Linked DNA regions of Homo sapiens: region 2 is linked to region 1. Evidence: promoter capture Hi-C in 16 types of primary human blood cells and fetal thymus (Javierre and others, 2016). All regions are on one chromosome and are shown on one strand. Each heading gives the region's core, a stretch centred on a gene start or on the middle of the fragment in contact. The rest is flanking DNA. Distances are from core to core; before and after follow the strand shown. Region 1 holds the start of ASCC2 (activating signal cointegrator 1 complex subunit 2). Region 2 holds the start of HORMAD2 (HORMA domain containing 2).

What was found. The method cuts DNA at HindIII sites, captures the fragments that hold promoters and counts their contacts. A CHiCAGO score of 5 or more calls a contact.
Region 2: a contact is called between the fragment with the promoter of HORMAD2 here and the fragment with the promoter of ASCC2 in region 1, in 1 of 17 cell types (M1 macrophages). The highest score is 6.0, in M1 macrophages.

Annotation. Positions count from the first base shown.
Region 1 is chr22:29,837,024-29,841,246 of GRCh38, forward strand. ASCC2 (activating signal cointegrator 1 complex subunit 2) reads right to left here and starts at 1,251. Exons shown (of 20, transcript NM_032204.5): 1 at 1,155-1,251. RefSeq lists an enhancer at 1,524-1,583. The HindIII fragment of the contact is 11,938 bases long and covers 1-4,223 here.
Region 2 is chr22:30,078,387-30,082,609 of GRCh38, forward strand. It overlaps HORMAD2 (HORMA domain containing 2), which reads left to right and starts at 2,078. Exons shown (of 11, transcript NM_152510.4): 1 at 2,078-2,105. It overlaps HORMAD2-AS1 (HORMAD2 and MTMR3 antisense RNA 1), which reads right to left and starts at 1,871. Exons shown (of 5, transcript NR_110541.2): 1 at 1,742-1,871. RefSeq lists silencers at 110-229, 1,679-1,728 and enhancers at 280-359, 1,534-2,231, 2,069-2,148. The HindIII fragment of the contact is 6,725 bases long and covers 1-4,223 here.

The sequences.
Region 1 (4,223 bases), core at 1-2,500:
AGCTATGTAGATAAGGCTCATGAAGCTGTGGCAGCATTTAAAAGAGAGACCTGGCTTGAGGAAGAAGTGATGTCAAGGAAGACCTGAGTTTTTGTCTAAAGCACGGGTACAAATTAAGTAGGCAGGGCTGGGCGCGATGGCTCACGCCTGTAATCCCAGCGCTTTGGGAGGCCAAGGCGGGCGGATCACGAGGCCAGGAGATCGAGACCATCCTGGCTAGCAAGGTGAAACCCCGTCTCTACCGAAAAAAAAAAAAAAAATTAGCAGGGCGTGGTGGTGCATGCCTGTAATCCTAGCTACTCAGGAGGCTGAGGCAGGAGAATCGCTTGAACCCGGGAGGCGGAGGTTGCAGTGGGACGAGATCACGCCACTGCACTCCAGCCTGGGCGACAGAGCAAGACCCCGTCTTGGGGGGAAAAAATAAATTAACTGGACAATCTGAACTTTGAGCTCCAAAAGGACAAACAATAATCATGACTATGTCTGTGCCCACCACTGTATTCCCCTGCCAGGCAGGACAGCAAAAGCCAAAAGCTAAGAAAGGGAGGGGGAGCTCCCTACAAGCACCCAATTGCAATATGGCCTGGGAGCATCCCCGGGGCTACTGCTCCCTCAGCCTCTTTGTCATCATTCCTCTAGTCTCTCAATTAAATACTACTCTCCTCAGAGACCTTCTGATGGCTCTGCCTATAGTATCCACTCTCCCAGTTACTGTCATAGCTTTAATGACCTTGTGCATTTGCTTGTCGTTGACCATCTCCTCCCACTAGACTGTAAGCTCCATGAGGGCAGAAGCCTTGTCTGTCTTGCTTTCTTTGTATCCCCAATGTCTAGATCTGTGTCTGGCACATAGGAAGCACTCCACAAATATTTGCTGAACGAATGAATGAACCCTGAGGAAACTGAAGCCCCGGGTGTGAGGACGTGGGGGGATCGTGGCTGGTCCAACGCCACTCTGGGGCCGAACTTCGAACCCGTGGCTCCTGACCCTGGCGGCCAAGTCTCGAGAGGCGGCTCACAACCCCTCAGGTAGCGTAAGCGTGGGCCCCGCAATGGAGGCCAGAGGATGGGAGAGCCAAGGCTGCCCAAGGCATAGCCGCGGCTCCTCCGGGGTCCCTTGCCCTGCATCTGGCAGGGACCAGCCACGCACTCACCTCGGCGGCTCCACCACCGGCTCTGTGCCGCCGCCGCCGCCGCCGCCGCCGACCACGGTGACAGCTCCCTGAGCGCCCGCACTTCCGGGGTCAAACTGCGATTCCGCAGGAGCAGACAGGAAGTCTCGGCCTGGCCCCGCCCCCAGAGCCGAGCAAACTACCGCCGGGAAGCCGGACCCGGGTTGCGCCTCTCTTCTTAAGACTCCGCCCCACACTCGGCGTCTGTAGCCACGCCCCCTTCCCCTCCTATCTCCCTTCCTGCTTAAGCAGAGAATAGGTCAGCTGAGGGCGGGCTGTGTGATTACACCTCTCGGGAAATCCAAGTATGGCACCTGAGAGGACGTCTCGGAATCCCAGGCTTCCACCTTCTGCCCGACCTCCTTAGTCACCGTTTTACATATTTAATCCAGAAGAGAAATTTTAACAAGTCAAAAGCACGAACATAATGTTAAGCAGATGTACAAGTACAGACTGCGATTTCATTTACGGGAAATTCTAGAACAGACAGAACTCATGAGTAGTGATGGTGTTAAAATTGGTGGTTTCCTCTGGGGCTGTGGGCTGGGAGGGGCCACAAGTGAGGCTGGGGTCACCCCCTGTCTTCATCTCGGTGGTAGCCATGTAGATGTGTTCACTTTGGAAAATTCATCAAATTGTACGCTTAAGATTTGTGCATTTTTCTGTATGTATGCAATACAGTTTTGTTCTGTTTTGTTTAAGGAAGTTACAAGTATAGCTATCCTAAGAGAAGGATGCAATTTTTTCTACAGAATGTCTCAGGTAATGTAGGTTTAGTGGTTCCTAAGCCTGACTATGGATCAGAATCATCACAGAAAACTTGTTAAGAACACACATTCCTGGCTTCATCTCAGTGCCTGGTACACAGTAAGAATTCAAAACCAACCACCATCATTATTGGGGTGTTATAGAAGCCCCCGAATGGAGAACACAACCCCACCCTGGGATTGTGAAATATTTCCCAGGACACTCCTGCCAACCCCTGCTATCTGCACTAGGGCTACAAGGAATGCTTAGTTCAGTGCCTGTCTTCAAGGGGCTTACAGGATAGGAAGTGCAAGAAAACCAATAGCAATGAGTCAGTGTGATGAATGCAGGGTGCTAAGGAAATAGGAGAGATGGGCTGTAAACCAGAAATGAGATGAGAGGGGCTGGATATTATATTAGTTTTGTATTGCTGCATAACATATTACCACAAACTTATAACAACACACTGCTTGCCACTTATAACAAACACATTTATTTATTTATTTATTTTGAGACAGAGTCTCACTCTGTCACCAGGCTGGAGTGCAGTGGTGTGATCTTGGCTCACTGTAACCTCTGCCTCCCGGAGGTTACAGTGGGTTCAAGCGATTCTCCTGCCTCAGCCTCCCAAGTAGGCAGGACTACAGGCATGAGCCACCAGGCCCAGCTAATTTTTGTATTTTTAGTAGAGACGGAGTTTCACCATGTTGGCCAGGATGGTCTCGATCTCTTGACGTCGTGATCCGCCTGCCTCAGCCTTCCAAAGTGCTGGGGTTACAGGCGTGAGCCACCACACCTGGCCAACAAACATATTTATTATCTCACATTTTCTGTGGGCCAGGAATCTGAGGATGGCATAGCTGGCTCCTCTGCATCAGGGTCACCCACAAGACTGCAATCAAGATATCGGCCAGGGCTGGAGTCTCATTTAAAGGCTCAACTCAAAAAGGATCTGCTTCCCATGTCTAGTGGCTAAATTCAGTTCCTTAATGGTTGTTGGACTAAGGGTCTCAGTTCCTAGCTGGATTTTGGCTAAAGGCTTGTCACGTAGGCTTCTCCAGTGTAGCAGCCTGCTTCATCAAAGCATGCAAGCCTAAAAGTTAATAGGGAAGCCAAGAGTGGTGGCACATGCTTATGGTTCCAGCAGGTTGGGAGGCTGAAGCAGGAGGATTGTTTGCGCCTAGGAGTTCAAATTGAGCCTGAGCAACATAGCAAGACCCAGTCTCTAAAAATTAAAAATAAATAAATAAATAAAAGAAGGCAATAGGGGCCGGGCACCGTGGCTCATGCCTATAATCCCAACACTTCGGGGGGCTAAGGTGGGAAGATTGCTTGAGCCCAGAAGTCTGAGGCCATCTTAGGCAACATAGCGAGACTTCGTCTCTACAAAAAAAAATTTAAAATTAGCCAGGCATGCTGGTGCATGCCTGTAGTCCCAGCTACTTAGGAGGTCGAGGCAGGAGAATTGCTTGAGCCCAGGAGTTCGAGGCTGCAGTTAGCTGTGATCACACCACTGCACTCCAGCCTGCACAACAGAGCAAGACCCTGTCTCAAACAAACAAAAGGAGGCAATAGGAGATTCTACTAAGAAGAGAGAAATTACAACCTCATGTAACCTAATCAAGAAAGTGACATCAGTTTTGCCATGTTCTATTTGTTAGTAGCAAGTCACAGGATTTGCCCACAGGGGATTACACAAGGGCATGAATACCAAAAGATGTGAATCAATGGAGGCCATTCTAGAGTCTGCCTGCCACAGATACTTGGAGGATGCATATCAACCCCAGGTCTGCAGCAGAGGAAGTAGAGGTGCAGAGAGATAAAGACAGTTGTGATAATAATGACCACATTTGTCAAACCCTTGCTTCATCCCAGGCACTGGAATAAGCATTTTACACATATTATCTCTTTGACTTTTTTTTTTTTTTAAATGAGATGGAGTCTCACTCTGTTACCCAGGCTGGAGTGCAGTGGCACGATCTTGGTTCACTGCAACCTCCGCCTCCCAGGTTCAAGCCATCCTCCTGCCTCAGCCTCCGTAGTAGCTGGGACTACAGGCATGCACTGGGCTAATTTTTGTATTTTTAGTAGAGATGGGGTTTTGCCATGTTGGGCAGGCTGGTCTCAAACTCCTGACCTCAGGTGATCTGCCCGTCTTGATCTCTCAAAGTGCTGGGATTACAGGTGTGAGCCACTGAGCCAGGTGCTCTTTGACTTTTTGTAACAATGATAAGAGGTAGACGCTATTATGACCCCATTTTAAAGAGAGGTTTAAAGACTAGACCAGAGTCACAGAGCTGGTAA
Region 2 (4,223 bases), core at 828-3,327, 240 kb after region 1:
CTTGAGGTCAGGAGTTCAAGACCAGCCTGGCCAACATGGTGAAACCCCATCTCTACTAAAAATACAAAAATCAGCCGGGCATGGTGATGCATGCCTGTAACCCCAGCTACTTAGGTGGCTGAGGCAGGAGAATCACTTGAGCCTGGGAGGTGGAGGTGGCAGCGAGCCAATATCACGCCACTGCACTCCAGCCTGGGTGACAGAGCAAGACTCTGTCTCACAAAAAAAAAAAAAAAAAAAAAAAAAAAAAATTAGATTGAGAGAAATTCTATGAAAGAAACAGAATAACGAATAACTGTGTTTGCTGGTGGGGTAGACTGCCAATAGTATAGGGCAGAGAGGGGTAAGTCTTTGGATATGGTAGCAGTTGACTGAGCTCAGATCTGAAGGCAGAAGAAAATTAGAACAGCCAGCACAGAGGGCCTAGTGATCCAGCCAGAGAGGCTGGTAAATGCGGAGGCTGAGAAGGGCTGGTGCAGACAAACCATCTGTGTGGTTGGAGCTTAAAAAGCAGTTACTTCCGGAAAGTATAGGGTGAACGCAGTAGTTCTCAACAGAGGGCAATTTTGCACACCCCATGGGACATTTGGCAAAGTCTAGAGAAATTTTTGGTTGTTATGATGGTGGGGGTGGGGAGAAGGTTGAGAAAACTTGCACTAAAAGAATATTTCAGCCCAAATTTCAGTTTTAGTCATTATGTTCTAAACTCATGTTCTCGCCAACTTGAATAGTTTTTTTTTTCTTTCCTGCAGAAACAAAATAAGAACAGGTTTCAAGTGGCTCACTCTTTCATCTACTCTCTTGGGAAATCCCCTTGGGGAGGTTCATGGGACTCCAGGAGCCTTTGGAAAGCACCACAGGATACGAAATATCTACCTAAACAGGTGAGAAACGATCCAAGGAGCCACACCCCCAACTGCTCCCACAGTTACCAGGGCAGAAAAAACTGAGATTAGGGGTAGGGCACAAAGGAGAATATATTTATGTTTTATTTGCATAATTACAAATTAATGTTAAAAAGAATGCAAAGTCAGGTCCAGGGTAGGGATGAAGAGGTTGCAGATGCCCTCAAGTATTGGAAAGCTCTGGCCTTCTGGCCTTATGTCTTTTTTCTTTCTTTTCTTTTTTTTTATTTTTGAGACAGGGTCTCCCTCTGTTGCCCAGGCTGGAGTGCAATGGTACGATCTTGGCTCACTGCAACCTCAAACTCCCCGGCTCAAGCGATCCTCCTACCTCAGCCTCCCGAGCAGCTGGGACTACAGGCGCACGTCAGGTGGCCCAGCTAATTTTTGTACTTTTTAAAATTTTTTTGAGACGGAGTCTCGCTCTGTCGCCCAGGCTGGAGTGCAATGGCGGAATCTCGGCTCACTGCAACCTCAGCCTCCTGGGCTCAAGCGATTCTCGTGCCTCAGCTTCCCAAGTAGCTGGGACTACAGGCGCGCGCCACCACGCCCAGCTAATTTTTGTATTTTTTGTAGAGACGGGTTTTCAACATGTTGGCCAGGCTGGTCTCGAATTCCTGACCTCAAGTGACGCGCCCGCCTCAGCCTCCCAGAGTGCTGGGATCCCAGGTGGAGCCACCGCGCCGCACTTCTCGGGCCTTCTTCTAACTCGGGTCCCTGGGCCCCCCAGGCTCTCGCTTCCCTCCCCTACGCCGCCCCGCGCCCGCCTCAGACCTCTCTGGGACCCGCCGGCCTGGCGTCCTGGCCCGCCCGAGCCCCACGGTCCCTCGGGTCCTAACCTCGGCGGGGCAGGCACCTCCTCAGGAAGCCCCGGAGCAGGCTGTCGTTGTATAGGTGGCCCAGGCTGGCGGCCCCTGACCGAAGGTCGCGTCGGGTCAGTGTGCAGCCCGTGGCTGAGAGGCGGCTGCTGAGGGGCCGGGCGGGCTAGGGGCCGGCTAGCCGCCGTTCGCCCCTGCTTTGCATATTCATGAAGTCTAGCGAGGCCGGTCGCCCAGGCTAGCCGTGGACGGGTCATGAATTATTCATGAGGAAACCTCTGGTCCCGCCCAGAAAGGCCTCGTTGACTATTCATGAGCCGAGGAGCGGGTTTGGGCCGGAAAAGGCCGTTGACCCCCGGTGGGAGGGAAGCGTCGACGAGCTGAGGTGAGGGCTGTTGAGACGCGAGGTCTCGGCCCAGAGAGGGCACTCGGGCGTTGTTAGTTCTGTCTTTATGTCAAAAAACAATTTTTTTTTCTTTTCTTATTACTTAAGGCTTTAAGTTGGATTTGAAAGTATCATATTTCGTGAGGGCCTAAAGTACTGTGAAGAGAATCGGGAGGGCAGGGGGCTGAGGAGGAAGGCAAAAGGGAGGCGATTTCCCCCAGAACTGGACAGAGAGCACCCAGGTAGTTTTGAAATTCAGATTTTTCTGGACATGAAATCAAACTTGCTGAGCAAGCAGCAGCCATAATGAGCCATGATGAGGCTGGCAGGGCAGACGATGTCTGTGCCCGACATTGGAGGGGGCCGTGTGTGGTGGAGCTTTGGGGAAGTTTATCTTACCTGGGTCAGATTCTCCCCAGCCATTGAGGTTTTCTGCCAGGATCGATGCCTGGTACAGGCCAAGAGGTGAGAGAGGTGGGGACAAGACACCCCGCCCCCCTTGACCTCAGCTCCCCTTTCACTTTAGTGAGGATTTGCCAATTAATCCCTATGGACTTTAGTTCCCTAAACAGAGGGAGAGAGTCTTGAACCTCAGGATTAGCCAATCGCCAAAATGTGTCCGAGTACGCAGGGCACTGGACAGGCTGTGCAGTACATCGTGTACTCAGCTGGTAGAAATGAGGGGTGGTTCTGGCCCCTAAAGGGGTTTTTAATCTCAGCAGGATCATAATCTAATTTCTCCTCCATTGGACCATCAATCTGTTGAGGTAGGAACAGTATTTTACATCTCGTAATCCTGCATGTTGTTGCCTGGCACATTGTAGTTGCCTCGTAGATGTTGAATGAATGAATAATTGAAATAGCATGAAAAAGATATTAAAAAGTCAAAAGAGCATGAACAAATACTCAATTAATATAGTGGAAGCCATTTTCTCTGAATGAGCACAGGTAGGGGAATTACCAGGGCCAAATGGAATTTGTTAAAATGGTGAATAATTTATTGAAGCAAGCTCTGTTGGAAGGTCTAAGTAATTGGGCGAACTTTGGCAAACCAAGTTCCCTTGCTTAGCCTCACTTTCCTTTTCTTTTTTCTTTTTTTTTTGTGAGATGGAGTCGAGCTCTGTGCCAGGCTGGAGTGCAGTGACGCAATCTCAGCTCACTGCAACCTCCACCTCTCGGGTTCAAGCGATTCCCCTGCCTCAGCCTCCCATGTAGCTGGGACTACAGGTGTGCACCACCACGCCCAGCTAAATTTTTTTATTTTTTTTTATTTTTAGTAGAGACAGGGTTTCACCATGTTGGCCAGGATAGTCTCGATCTCTTGACCTCGTGATCCTCCCACCTCGGCCTCCCAGAGTGCTGGGATTACAGGTGTGAGCCACTGCACCTGGCCCCTTTTCTTTATAGTTTTATGTTTAGGTTTAAATCCATGATCCATTTTGCATTAATATTTGTATACAGTGTGAGATTTAGGTTAAGTTTCTTTTAATTCTCTGTTCTTCCCCCCACCCTCCAGATGTCCTTTTGTTTCAGCATCATTTGCTGAAAAAAAGATTCTTCCTCCACAGAATTGGATCTTCTTTAAATCAAAGGGGTTGGAAGATGTCTGTGCTCCCTTCCAGCTTTAGGAATCTATTGAACCCATTTATGTTAACGTACACTTCTTTTGAGTAAAGCCATTCTTAACAACATGCATGTGTAAGGAAGGTAATATAGTTACATTTCAGAATCCAGCTATTGGATAGTGTTCACCTGATAGAAAAGGGATTTTCTTGTAAAAAACGGTTTTTGAAGATTGAGAAAGATGGGTAGAGAGCCTTCATAAATCAACTATGATTATATTTGGGAAAATGTAATAAAACTTTGGCTTTTGCTTCACTTGGAATGGTTAAAAAAGTGGTTTAGGCCTTAGTAAACTAAACAGCAGCTGGCTAATCTTTATGTGAATCTTGGACTCACACATAGTAGGGGTAAAATAGGAAGTAATTGTGCCACCATATAAAATAGGGCAATTGAAGGCGTGGTGTGGTGTCTCATATGTGTAATCCCAAAACTTTGAGAGGCCAAGAGTTCGAGGCCAGTCTGGGCAACATAGTGAGACCTCCCCCTCCACCCGCC